Regions from separate parts of the Homo sapiens genome. Here all the other regions are linked to region 2. The links are contacts of gene promoters, found by promoter capture Hi-C in blood cells and fetal thymus (Javierre and others, 2016). All regions are on one chromosome and are shown on one strand. Each heading gives the region's core, a stretch centred on a gene start or on the middle of the fragment in contact. The rest is flanking DNA. Distances are from core to core; before and after follow the strand shown.

The links. Contacts are between HindIII fragments. The CHiCAGO score rates a contact against its expected background, and 5 or more counts as called.
Region 1: a fragment that was not itself captured here is called in contact with the fragment with the promoter of CEBPE in region 2 in 1 of 17 cell types (M0 macrophages); the score reaches 5.0 in M0 macrophages.
Region 3: a fragment that was not itself captured here is called in contact with the fragment with the promoter of CEBPE in region 2 in 2 of 17 cell types (M0 macrophages and M2 macrophages); the score reaches 6.4 in M0 macrophages.

What each region holds. Positions count from the first base shown.
Region 1 is chr14:23,207,442-23,211,257 of GRCh38, reverse strand. It overlaps LOC105370406 (a long non-coding RNA gene), which reads left to right. Exons shown (of 4, transcript XR_943606.3): 2 at 3,801-3,816. It also overlaps a transcript of RNF212B not described here. Among named protein-coding and RNA genes, the nearest start is that of SLC7A8, 26 kb to the right of the region's middle. The HindIII fragment of the contact is 8,966 bases long and covers 1-3,816 here.
Region 2 is chr14:23,116,967-23,120,504 of GRCh38, reverse strand. It overlaps CEBPE (CCAAT enhancer binding protein epsilon), which reads left to right and starts at 1,250. Exons shown (of 2, transcript NM_001805.4): 1 at 1,250-1,923; 2 at 2,683-3,199. The coding sequence starts at 1,414. The coding sequence ends at 3,018. RefSeq lists enhancers at 1-451, 532-611. The HindIII fragment of the contact is 9,723 bases long and covers 1-3,538 here.
Region 3 is chr14:22,990,102-22,993,869 of GRCh38, reverse strand. It overlaps C14orf93 (chromosome 14 open reading frame 93), which reads left to right. Exons shown (of 7, transcript NM_021944.4): 4 at 3,743-3,768. AJUBA-DT (AJUBA divergent transcript) reads right to left here. Exons shown (of 3, transcript XR_007064074.1): 2 at 3,664-3,768. Among named protein-coding and RNA genes, the nearest start is that of AJUBA-DT, 7.7 kb to the right of the region's middle. The HindIII fragment of the contact is 4,277 bases long and covers 279-3,768 here.

The sequences.
Region 1 (3,816 bases), core at 370-2,869, 90 kb before region 2:
AAGTTGTTCAATTTGTTGCTTTTTCTTTCTTTTTTTTTTTGAGACAGAGTCTCACTCTGTTGCCCAGGCTGGAGGGCAGTGGTGCAATCTCAGCTCACCACAACTTTCACCTCCCAGATTCAAGCAATTCTCCTGCCTCAGCCTCCCAGGTAGCTGGGATTACAGGCGTACGCCATCACGACCAGCTAATTTTTTTATTTTCAGTAGAGACGGGGTTTCACTATGTTGGCCAGTCTGGTCTCGAAGTCCTGACCTCGTGATCTGTCCACCTTGGCCTCCCAAAGTGAATTTGTTGCTTTAACACTGTTTATAACATTATCTTATTCATTATCTTTTTGTAAAATAGCTTTTTATTTTGGAATAATTTTAGATTTACAGGAAAGTTTGCAAAGGTAGTACAGAGAGTTCCTGGATATCCTTCACCCAGTTTCAGTTTTCCCTAATGTTATCATCCTACATTTCTTTTTTTTTTTTTTTTTTTGAGACAGAGTCTCACACTGTCACCTGGACTGGAGGGCAATGGCGTGATCCTGGCTCACTGCAACCTCCACCTCCTGGGCTCATGCAATTCTCCTGCCTCAGCCTCCTGAGTAGCTGGGATTACAGGCTCACACCACCACACCCAGCTAATTTTTTGCATTTTTAGTAGAGACGGGGTTTCACTATGTTGGCAAGACTGGTCTCAAACTCCTGACCTCGTGATCCACCCGCCTCAGCCTCCCAAAGTTCTGGGATTATAGGCGTGAGCCACCACGCCCACCCCATCCTACATTTCTATGTGATATTTGTCAAAACTGAGAAACCAACATTGGCACATTATAATTAACTAAACTCCAGACTTTGTTCAAATCTCATTTTCCTACTAATATCCTTTCTCTGTTCTACAGTCCAAGCCTATATACCGCACTGCGTTTCATTGTCATGTCTCATTAGCATTCTCTGGTCAGAGACGGTTTCTCAATCTTTCATTGTGTTTCATGAGCTTGACGGTTTTAAGGAAAATGGGTCATGTGTTTTGTAGAATGTCCCTCAGTTTGGGCTTGTCTGATGCTTGTATCATGATTCAACTTAGTCATAGGGGTATTTGTTTATTTTGTTTGTTCGTGTTTTGAGACAGTCTCACTCTATTGCCCAGGCGGAGTGCAGTGGTGCAATCTTGGCTCCCTGCAACCTCCACCTTCCAGGTTCAAGCAATTTTCCTGCCTCAGCCTCCCCAGTAGCTGGGATTACAGGCACACACATCATGCCAGCTAATTTTTGTATTTTTAACAGAGACAGGGTTTCATCATGTTGGCCAGGCTGGTCTCAAACTCCTGGCTTCAAGTGATCAGCCCACCTCGGCCTCCCAAAGTGCTGTGATTACAGGTTTGAGTCACCTCACTGGGCCAGTCATAGATGTTTTAAAAGAATCACAGAGGCAAAGTGCCCTGTCATCATGTTGTATCAGGGGTACATGATATCCATATATCTAACTGATGATATTAATTTTGAGTTGTTGTTTAAGAGAGTGGTTGCCAGGTTTCTCCACTGTAAAGTTACTATTTTTCCCTTTCCATCTATTCTTTGAAAGAGAGTCCCTCAATCCAGCCTACCCTCAAAGTGGTTAAGCATTACCTCCTGCAAGAAAAAGTATCTACATATATTATTTAAAATTTGGAAGTCAAAGTATTCTGTAAAGATTTGTTTCCACTCCACCATTTAGTCTTTTAGTCAATCATTTGTTTATATCAGTATGGAGGCATGTATATTTTATACATTGGATATCTAATATTAGATACTTTTACACATTTTATACATTGGATTATAATCTAATACTGTCAGAGGTGTGTGAACCAGAGCAACTCCATCTTAAATAGGAGCTGGGTAAAATGAGGCTGAAACCTACTGAGCTGCATTCCCAGATGGTTAAGGCATTCTAAGTCACAGGATGAGATAGGTCAGCACAAAATACAGGTCATAAAGACCTTGCTGGTAAAACAGGTTGCGGTAAAGGAACCGGCCAAAACCCACCAAAACCAAAATGGCTACGAGAGTGACCTCTGGTCGTCCTTACTGCTACACTCCCACCAGCACCATGACAGTTTACAAATGCCATGGCAACGTCAGGAAGTTATCTTATATGGTCTAAAAAGGGGAGGCATGAATAATCCACCCCTTGTTTAGCATATCATCAATACATAACCATAAACATGGGCAACCAGGCCGGGCACGGTGGCTCACGCCTGTAATCCCAGCACTCTGGGAGGCCAAGGCGGGCGGATCACGAGGTCAGGAGATCGAGACCATCCCGGCTAACACGATGAAACCCCGTCTCTACTAAAAATACAAAAAATTAGCCAGGCGTAGTGGCGGGCACCTGTAGTCCCAACTACTCAGGGGGCTGAGTCAGGAGAATGGCGTGAACCTGGGAGGCAGAGCTTGCAGTGACCTGAGATCGCGCCATTGCACTCCAGCCTGGGCGACAGAGTGAGACTCCGTCTCAAAAAAAAAAAAAAAAAAACGGCAACCAGCAGCCCTTGGGACTGCTCTGTCTGTGAAGTAGCCATTCTTTTATTCCTTTACTTTCTTAATAAACTTGCTTTCACTTTGCACTGCAGACTCACCCTGAGTTCTTTCTTGAGTGAGATCCAAGAACTCTCTCTTGGGGTCTGGGTCTGGGCCCCTTTCCTGTAACAATACTGTGCTACTTATTTTGTTGCTCAAATTATTCCAGCTTTGGCCATGGAAGAGCACTTTCAGATTGACTCCTATGTCATTTTTTTTAGAGATAGGATCTCACTCTGTCACCCATTCTAGAGTGCAGTGTGATCATAGCTCATTGCAGTCTTGAACTCCTGGGCTCAAGTTATTCTCCAGCTCCAATCTTCCAGGTAGCTAGAACTACAGGCACACACCATCACTCTGGACTAATTTATGTATTTATTTATTTTTGGAGGGACAGGGTCTCAAACTCCTGGCCTCCAGTGATCTTCTCGTCCAATGTGCTGGAATTACAAGTGTGAGCCACCACATCCGGCTGACTCCTAAGTCTTTTGAAATGTGCCACACTCATCTCGTGCTTTCCTTGACCCAGCTCTAAAAGCCATTTCTCCAAGGAGCCCAGGTTGCCCTTATTGTGAAAGGAAATAAATCTTGGGGCCCCCAAATCACTAAGCTAAAGGGAATAGTCAAGCTGGGAACTGCTTAGGGCAAACCTGCCTCCCATTCTCTTCAAAGTCACCCCTGTACTCACTGATATAGATGCATATCTGATTGCCTCCTTTGGAAAGGCTAACAGAAACTCAAAAGAATGCAATGTCTCATTTATCTGTGACCTGGAAGCCCCCTCTCCGCTTAGAGTCTGCCTACCTTTGCTTCAAGTTGTCCCACCTTTCCAGACTGAACCAATGTTATTCTTACATATATTGATTGATGTCTCATGTCTTCCTAAAATGTATAAAACTAAGCTGTACCCCGACCACCTTGGGCACATGTTGTCAGGACTTCCTGAGGCTGTGTCATGGAGGGGCGTGTTCTCAACCTTGGCAAAATAAACTTTCTAAATTAACTGAGACCTGTCTCAAATTTTCAGGATTCGCATTTTGGTAACCATGGGAGGATTCTGAGTGGAGTTGCCCCCGACCTTTGACAAATCTCCTATCTGTGCTTGGTACCAGCATGAGCTAACTCTATGGCTCAAACTAATAGGACAATTTGCTGAGGTCTGAAAATACCCTCTACAGAGAATGCCTGATCTCCCCAAATTTGGTGGAGATCTAAAGTTTATTTTGCTGTACAACTCTTCTTTTTGTTTTTTGTAGTTTTACTTGCTTCCAA
Region 2 (3,538 bases), core at 1-2,500:
ACCTACAATCCCTTTTGGAGATGAAATTCAACAGGTAAAAGCAGTACCAGAGCAGGTGTCTCTGAAAGGAGGTAGTGGGGAGTTCCCAAAGGAAAGAGAAAAGGGAAGAGGAGAGCCAGCACAGAACAAAGAATTGCAGAGAGGGAGCCATGGGCTTCTCCTGGAGACCCTAAAACAGAGCCCCAGGAAGAGGTGATGACATAAGAGGCTTCTCAAACCTCACAAGAGGAAGTAGACCCAAGAGACACGCATTGGAGATCAGAGAGCGGCCATGCAAAAGGAAAGACAGCAAACGAGCTGCAGCAAGCTCCTAAGCCCTGCAGCCCAGGCACAGGAAACCAGAGGCAGAGCCTCAGGCCCAGGGTGAGGGGCGAAGCACCAGCCTGAGCCTCTTGCAGCACAGAGCAGCTGGAAGAGAGAAGTGCTGGAGCCACCGGAGGATTATGGCTGTCTACTCCGAGGGCAGCAACCTGCCTAGGCCTGCGGTGCAAGGCCCAAGTCCTGACCAGGTGCTTTGGCCAAGCCCAGGGAGTTAGGAAGTGTACCAGGCTGCTAGAGGTAGCTAGGGCTGGAAACGCACTAACATGTGGGCTATTGCACAGCTCCTGTGCAAAAACCTAGCAAATGAGCATGCTCTGGAGCACCACGCAGGCTCGCGTGTAGAGCTTGTTCCTAGGACCTATCACTACTCCCTAGACCCCTCAAAAAACAAACCCTGGCCTACACTCAGAGAATGCTCTGGGAGGTGGGGCTACAAAAGAAACTTTCTCTTGGGGGTAGGTGGAGCCCAGCAGCAGGGGAGAGCCAGAGGAAGGCGTGTCAAGGGAGGAGGTGAGACCCAACTGAGGGTAGGCACTGGAAGAGGGCTTTCTCTCTTCACTCTAACTTGGAACCTCATTCTGCATAGAACTTTTTCAAAGTCGGAGGGAGGAGGTTGCTCAGAGTGGGGTGTTGCCCTCTGCGAGGATTTGGAGTCCCCTGGCCTCCCAGCAGGGAGTGGAGAGGCATTCCCAGAAGCATCAGCTTCGGGCATCTCCAGAACCCTGGCTTGGTCCCTGACCAAGGAGTGTCCCCAACTGCTGAATAGGCCAGGAGTCGCCTTTCTCTAAGGCTTACATCTCTCCCTCTGGGGTGTGTCCTGCCCCTCCCTGAGTCACCCCAAGGGGAGAGAGGGGAAAAAAGGGAAGAGAAGAGAGGCATTGACTACAGAGGAAGGAAAAGGAAGCAGAGCAGAGGGGGGAGAGAGGCCACACAGGAGTGGGTGACAGAGGAGACTGCAGAGGGCAGGTCTAGGGCAGAAGATCGAGAGAGGGCAGGCCCAGGTCAGGAGGAGGTAGAGAGAGGGCAGCCGGAGCACCCCAAGGGGTGCCTCAAGAGCAGGTGGGGGCGGGGAGCCGAGGGGGCGGGCCGGCCATGTCCCACGGGACCTACTACGAGTGTGAGCCCCGGGGTGGCCAGCAGCCACTCGAGTTCTCAGGGGGCCGAGCTGGGCCCGGGGAGCTAGGGGACATGTGTGAGCATGAGGCCTCCATTGACCTCTCCGCCTACATCGAGTCTGGGGAAGAGCAGCTTCTCTCCGATCTCTTTGCCGTGAAGCCAGCGCCTGAGGCCAGAGGCCTCAAGGGCCCCGGAACCCCTGCCTTCCCCCACTACTTGCCGCCTGACCCTCGGCCCTTTGCCTACCCTCCACATACCTTCGGCCCAGACAGGAAGGCGCTGGGGCCTGGCATCTACAGCAGCCCAGGGAGCTACGACCCCAGGGCTGTGGCGGTGAAGGAGGAGCCCCGGGGGCCAGAGGGCAGCCGAGCTGCCAGCCGAGGCAGCTACAATCCCCTGCAGTACCAAGTGGCACACTGTGGGCAGACAGCCATGCACCTGCCCCCAACTCTGGCAGCACCCGGCCAGCCTCTGCGCGTTCTCAAGGTAAGAGCAGGCCAGCCCTCCTCCCTCCTGCCCGGGGCTGGAGAGGCTGGTGTGGACAGGACCCTGTGCCCCGGCTCATGCTGCTGAGCCTGTGCTTGGTGTCGCTCTGTGAAATGGACCCAACCCACAGTCCTCTGTGTTCACACCCCACCATGACCTCCCTTTCCTTCTCTGTGAATTCATTCCCACCCTGAATCCCCACCCAAAGCCCCTGTGGCAAGCTGACCTACTTGATCTCAGGCCCCCACCGCCAGCCTCTCTGCTGCTCACCATGCCCCCTCCTCTTGTTTCTCTGCCGCCTGCTTCTGTGAGAAATGTCTACTGGTCATAGAACGGGAGACTCAAGGCAGATTGAGGGAAAGTGTACTCAGAAAGTGTGAGAGCATTGGCTGGGTGTCGTGGCTCATGCCTGTAATCCCAGCGCTTTGGGAGGCCAAAGCAGGAGGTTCGCTTAAGGCCAGGGGTTGGAGACCAGCCTGGACAACATAGCAAGGCTCCATCTTTACAAAAAAAGAAAGAAAGAAAGTGTGAGAACATGAAAGGGAGTTTTGGTCTCAAGCAGAGGACCCTGTGCATCTGGGTCACCATCTCCCAGAAGCAGAGCGATGATAGTTTTGACCTGAGAGACAGGAGCTGGCTCTGAGTCCTGTATTCCTTTGACGCATCAAGTGTGCCCTGGCTGCCGAGATTCCCGCCCCGCCTCCGCTCTGCCTCCTGGCCAGCCCTCACCTCTCCGTCTCTCCGTGCCTTCCCCTCCAGGCCCCTTTGGCCACTGCCGCACCCCCCTGCAGTCCCCTCCTGAAGGCGCCCTCCCCGGCTGGCCCCTTACACAAGGGCAAGAAGGCAGTGAACAAAGATAGCCTTGAGTACCGGCTGAGGCGGGAGCGCAACAACATCGCCGTGCGCAAGAGCCGAGACAAGGCCAAGAGGCGCATTCTGGAGACGCAGCAGAAGGTGCTGGAGTACATGGCAGAGAACGAGCGCCTCCGCAGCCGCGTGGAGCAGCTCACCCAGGAGCTAGACACCCTCCGCAACCTCTTCCGCCAGATTCCTGAGGCGGCCAACCTCATCAAGGGCGTGGGGGGTTGCAGCTGAGGCTGGCTGGTGGATTGTGGGCACCAGGCTCCCTGGCACGGCCTAACTCTGCGGACCCCCATCCTGCTGGGGGCCTAGAACCCTGAGACATAGACCATGGATAAATGGCAACCGGGGTGGCAAAGAGGGCAGGACCCAGCATAATGATTATATGGCTGAATAAAGTTGCACTGTGACTGGGTGTTGGGACTGTTGGCTGTGTGTGTGTGTGTGTGTGTGTGTGTGTGTGTGTGTGTGTCATGGAGGACCCTGGGGACAGAGGATGCATGTGGCTAGGTCTGCACCTCTTGTTTCCATGACCAAGTGGACATGTGGAAACACAGACATGCTGTCCACAGCCCACCCCCAATATACCACACAGCCAGGCCGTGTATCTGTCACTCTGCTCTTCTCTCCCTGACATCCCCCATCACCCCCTTCTGTGAGCTGAAGGCACATCCCCGCCCCCCACAGGACCTGGAGCACCTTTGTATGCTCTGCTAACAAAGATCTTCAGCTTGTAGGGAGATCCCGGCACCAC
Region 3 (3,768 bases), core at 1,168-3,667, 130 kb after region 2:
CAGAATCAAAGAGGCATCTCTCCAATCTGCTGAGGCTCTTGAGGATTGCTGCTAGGGATCCTGTGAACCAAAAGGATCAAACCAGAATTCTTAATTCCTTGGAATGCTGCAGATCCCAGCCACTCCTTGGGGAAATATTTTTAGCTTATTCAGGAGGTAGGTGAGCCAACAGCCTTTACAGTCCTCACACTTATTGTCTAGAGTATTTTCCCTTTCCATGTCAAGCCTGTTTTGATTTTTATCAGCTGATCTCTTCCAAGCCACTTGAGTTGGAAGCTTTGTAACTCCCTTTTTTCTTTCCCCTTTTTTTGTTTTTTGTTTTTTTGAAACTCTCCCAAATACTTTCTGAAACATTCGCCCACTCCTTTGTGATTCCTTAAGTGTGGACTACTAAGAGGTAAAATAACTATGTTGAATATGCAGCTAGTATAATAATGGTCCTTTTTACAGAGTGGAGACCCTAGCCATAAAGAGTTGACAATACTTTCCTAAGTTGGTATGGTGAATCAGCCATAGAGGTAGAAGGATAAATTGGGGATTTCTGAATATGGAGCTGAAAAGTCCTTGGATCAGGATATTAATCTGTCAGTTTGGGACTGGGTAACTTCCACTGACTGAGGGAGCTTGGGATGAAAATACAATCAGAAACAACTAAACTTAATTGAAGGACATGTTAAAACCCTGCATTAGGGCCGGGTGCGGTGGCTCACGCCTGTAATCCCAGCACTCTGGGAGGCCAAGGCGGGCAGATCACCTGAGGTCAGGAGTTTGAGACTAGCCTGGCCAACATGGTGAAACCACGTCTCTACTAAAGATACAAAAATTAGCTGGGCGTGGTGGCGTGCGCCTGTAATCCCAGCCACTTGAGAGGCTGAGGTAGGAGAATCACTTGAACCTGGGAGGCGGAGGTTGCAGTGAGCTGAGACCACACCACTGCACTCTAGCCTGGACAACAGAGCAAGACTCTGTCTCTTAATAAATAAATAAAGCTGGGCGTGGTGGCTCATGCCTGTAATCCCAGCACTTTGGGAAGCCGAGGTGGGTGGATCACGAGGTCAGGAGTTCAAGACCAGCCTGGCCAACATGGTGAAACCCCATCTCTACCAAAAATACAAAAATTAGCTGGGAATGGTGGTGCATTCCTGTAATCCCAGCTAACTAGGGAGGCTGAGCCAGGAGAATTGCTTGAACCAGGACCCTGGAGGCAGAGGTTGCAGTGAGCCGAGATCACGCCACTGCACCCCAGCCTGGGCTACAGAGTAAGACTCCATCTCAAAAAAATAAAAAATAAAAATAAATAAATAAATAAATAAATAAATATTTTAGGTGCTATTATGGGCAAAACTGGGAACAGATTTTGAAGCATCTAAGGCAAAACTTTTTCTTTCTTTTTTTTTTTTTTTTGAAACAGAGTCTCACTTTATTGCCCAGGCTGGAGTGCAGTGGCACGATCTCAGCTCACTGCAACCTCCGCCTCCTGGGTTCAAGCAATTCCTCTGTCTCAGCCTCCTGAGTAGCTGGGACTACAGTCGCACGCCACCACGCCTGGCTAATTTTTGTATTTTTAGTAGAGATGAGGTTTCACCATGTTGGTCAGGCTGGTCTCGAGCTCCTGACCTCAGGTGATCCACCCGCCTTGGCCTCCCAAAGTACTGGGATTACAGGCATGAGCCACCACGCCCAGCCGGCAAAACTTTTTAATGAGTAGAAATGTTCAACAATAGAATAAGCTGACTCAGAATGGAGAACTCATCATTAGATGGGTATAAACAAAGTGGAAAGACAGCCTGTTTAATGATGTGAAAGGGAGATTGGGTAATATAATATAGCCTCCACGGTCTTTTCCGATTCACGTTTCTGTTATTTTAGATTTCTGTTTTTCAGACCATGGTGTATATACTCCAGAGATTTGTGGTAACACATGAAGAAATACATAAAGCCACAGACAAACCCGGGGCTTTTGCCTGGGTCATCAGTTTTACTAGCAGATTCCAGAAGATGGCCAGGCACGGTGGCTCATGCCTGTAATCCCAGCACTTTGGGAGGCTGAGGCAGGTGGTTCACGAGGTCAAGAGATCAAGACCATCCTGGCCAACATGGTGAAACCCCATCTCTACTAAAAATACAAAAATTAGCTGGATGTGGTGGTGGTGCACCTGTAGTCCCAGCTACTCGGGAGGCTGAGGCAGGAGAATTGCTTGAACCCGGGAGGTGGAGGTTGCAGTGAGCCGAGATCCCGCCATTGCACTCCAGCCTGGCAACAGAGTGAGACTCTGTCTCAAAAAGAAAAAAGAAAAATTGCAGAAGACATTTTTATATTAAACAGGCCCGGTGCGGTGGCTCACACCTGTAATCCCAGCACACTTTGGGAGGCTGAGGTGGGTAGATCACAAGGTTAGGAGTTCGAGACCAGCCTGACCAACATGGTGAAACCCCATCTCTACTAAAAATACAAAAATTAGCTGGATGTGGTGGTGGTGCACCTGTAGTCCCAGCTACTCAGGAGGCTGAGGCAGGAGAATTGCTTGAACCCGGGAGGCGGAGGATGCAGTGAGCTGAGATGGCACCACCTGCCTTGGCCTCCCAAAGTACTGGGATTACAGGCATGAGCCACCGCGCCCGGCTGGCAAAACTTTTTAATGAGTGCACTCCAGCCTGGGTGACAGAGTGAAACTCTGTCTCAGAAAGAAAAAAAAAAAGAAAAGAAATACAAATACATTTTGAAGAAAAAATTTAAATGTGCAAGAGTAGGGGCCGGGCGCAGTGGCTTACACCTGTAATCCCAGCACTTTGGGAGGCCGAGGCGGGCAGATCATGAGGTCAGGAGATTGTGACCATCCTGGCTAACACGGTGAAACCCCGTCTCTACTAAAAATACAAAAAATTAGCCGGACGTGGTGGCAGGCACCTGTAGTCCCAGCTACTCAGGAAGCTGAGGGAGGAGAATGGCGTGAACCCGAGAGGCAGAGCTTGCAGTGAGCCAAGATCGTGCCACTGCACTCCAGCCTGGGCGACATAACGAGACTCCGTCTCAAAAAAAAAAAAAAGAAAAGGAAAGAAAAAAAAGTGCAAGAGAAGGGGACTTCAGGAAATGTTCACTTGGCTGGGCGTGGTGGCTCATGCCTGTAATCCCACCACTTTGGAAGGTCAAGGCGGGCAGATCACCTGAGATCAGGAGTTTAAGACCAGCCTGGCCAACATGGTGAAACCCCGTCTCTACAAAAATACAAAAATTAGCCAGGCATGATGGCAGGTGCCCGTACTCTGAGCTACTCGAGAGGCTGAGGCGGGAGAATCGCTTGAACCCGGGAGGCAGAGGTTGCAGTGAGCCGAGATCGCGCCACTGCACTCTAGCCTGGGCGACAGAGCAAGACTCCATCTCAAAAAAAAAAAAAGAAAGAAAAGTAAAAAAGAAATGTTCACTCGCAGTACTCCTGGTGTATACTTGCTTTCTCGTTGCTATCAGGGGTATGTTCATGGAAATGTTTGAGACCCTCTGCTCCAGTGATCACACTACTCAGGAGCAGAAGTAAGGCCAGGGATGATCCTGGAATCCTGACACACATGAAATGAAAAGTCAGGGAAGACCACACTAGAAATAGTAACTTGGATAGGCTCTTGGCTTAGAAAGGATTCAGGCAGAGAGCCCCTTAGGGACAATACCTTTTTACCCTAGGGACCAGAGGAGAGTTTTCATAACATCCACTCTTGGCTTGATTGTGTTTTCTTTTTTTCCTCCTAGAAACTGGTCCACAATGTGCATAACCA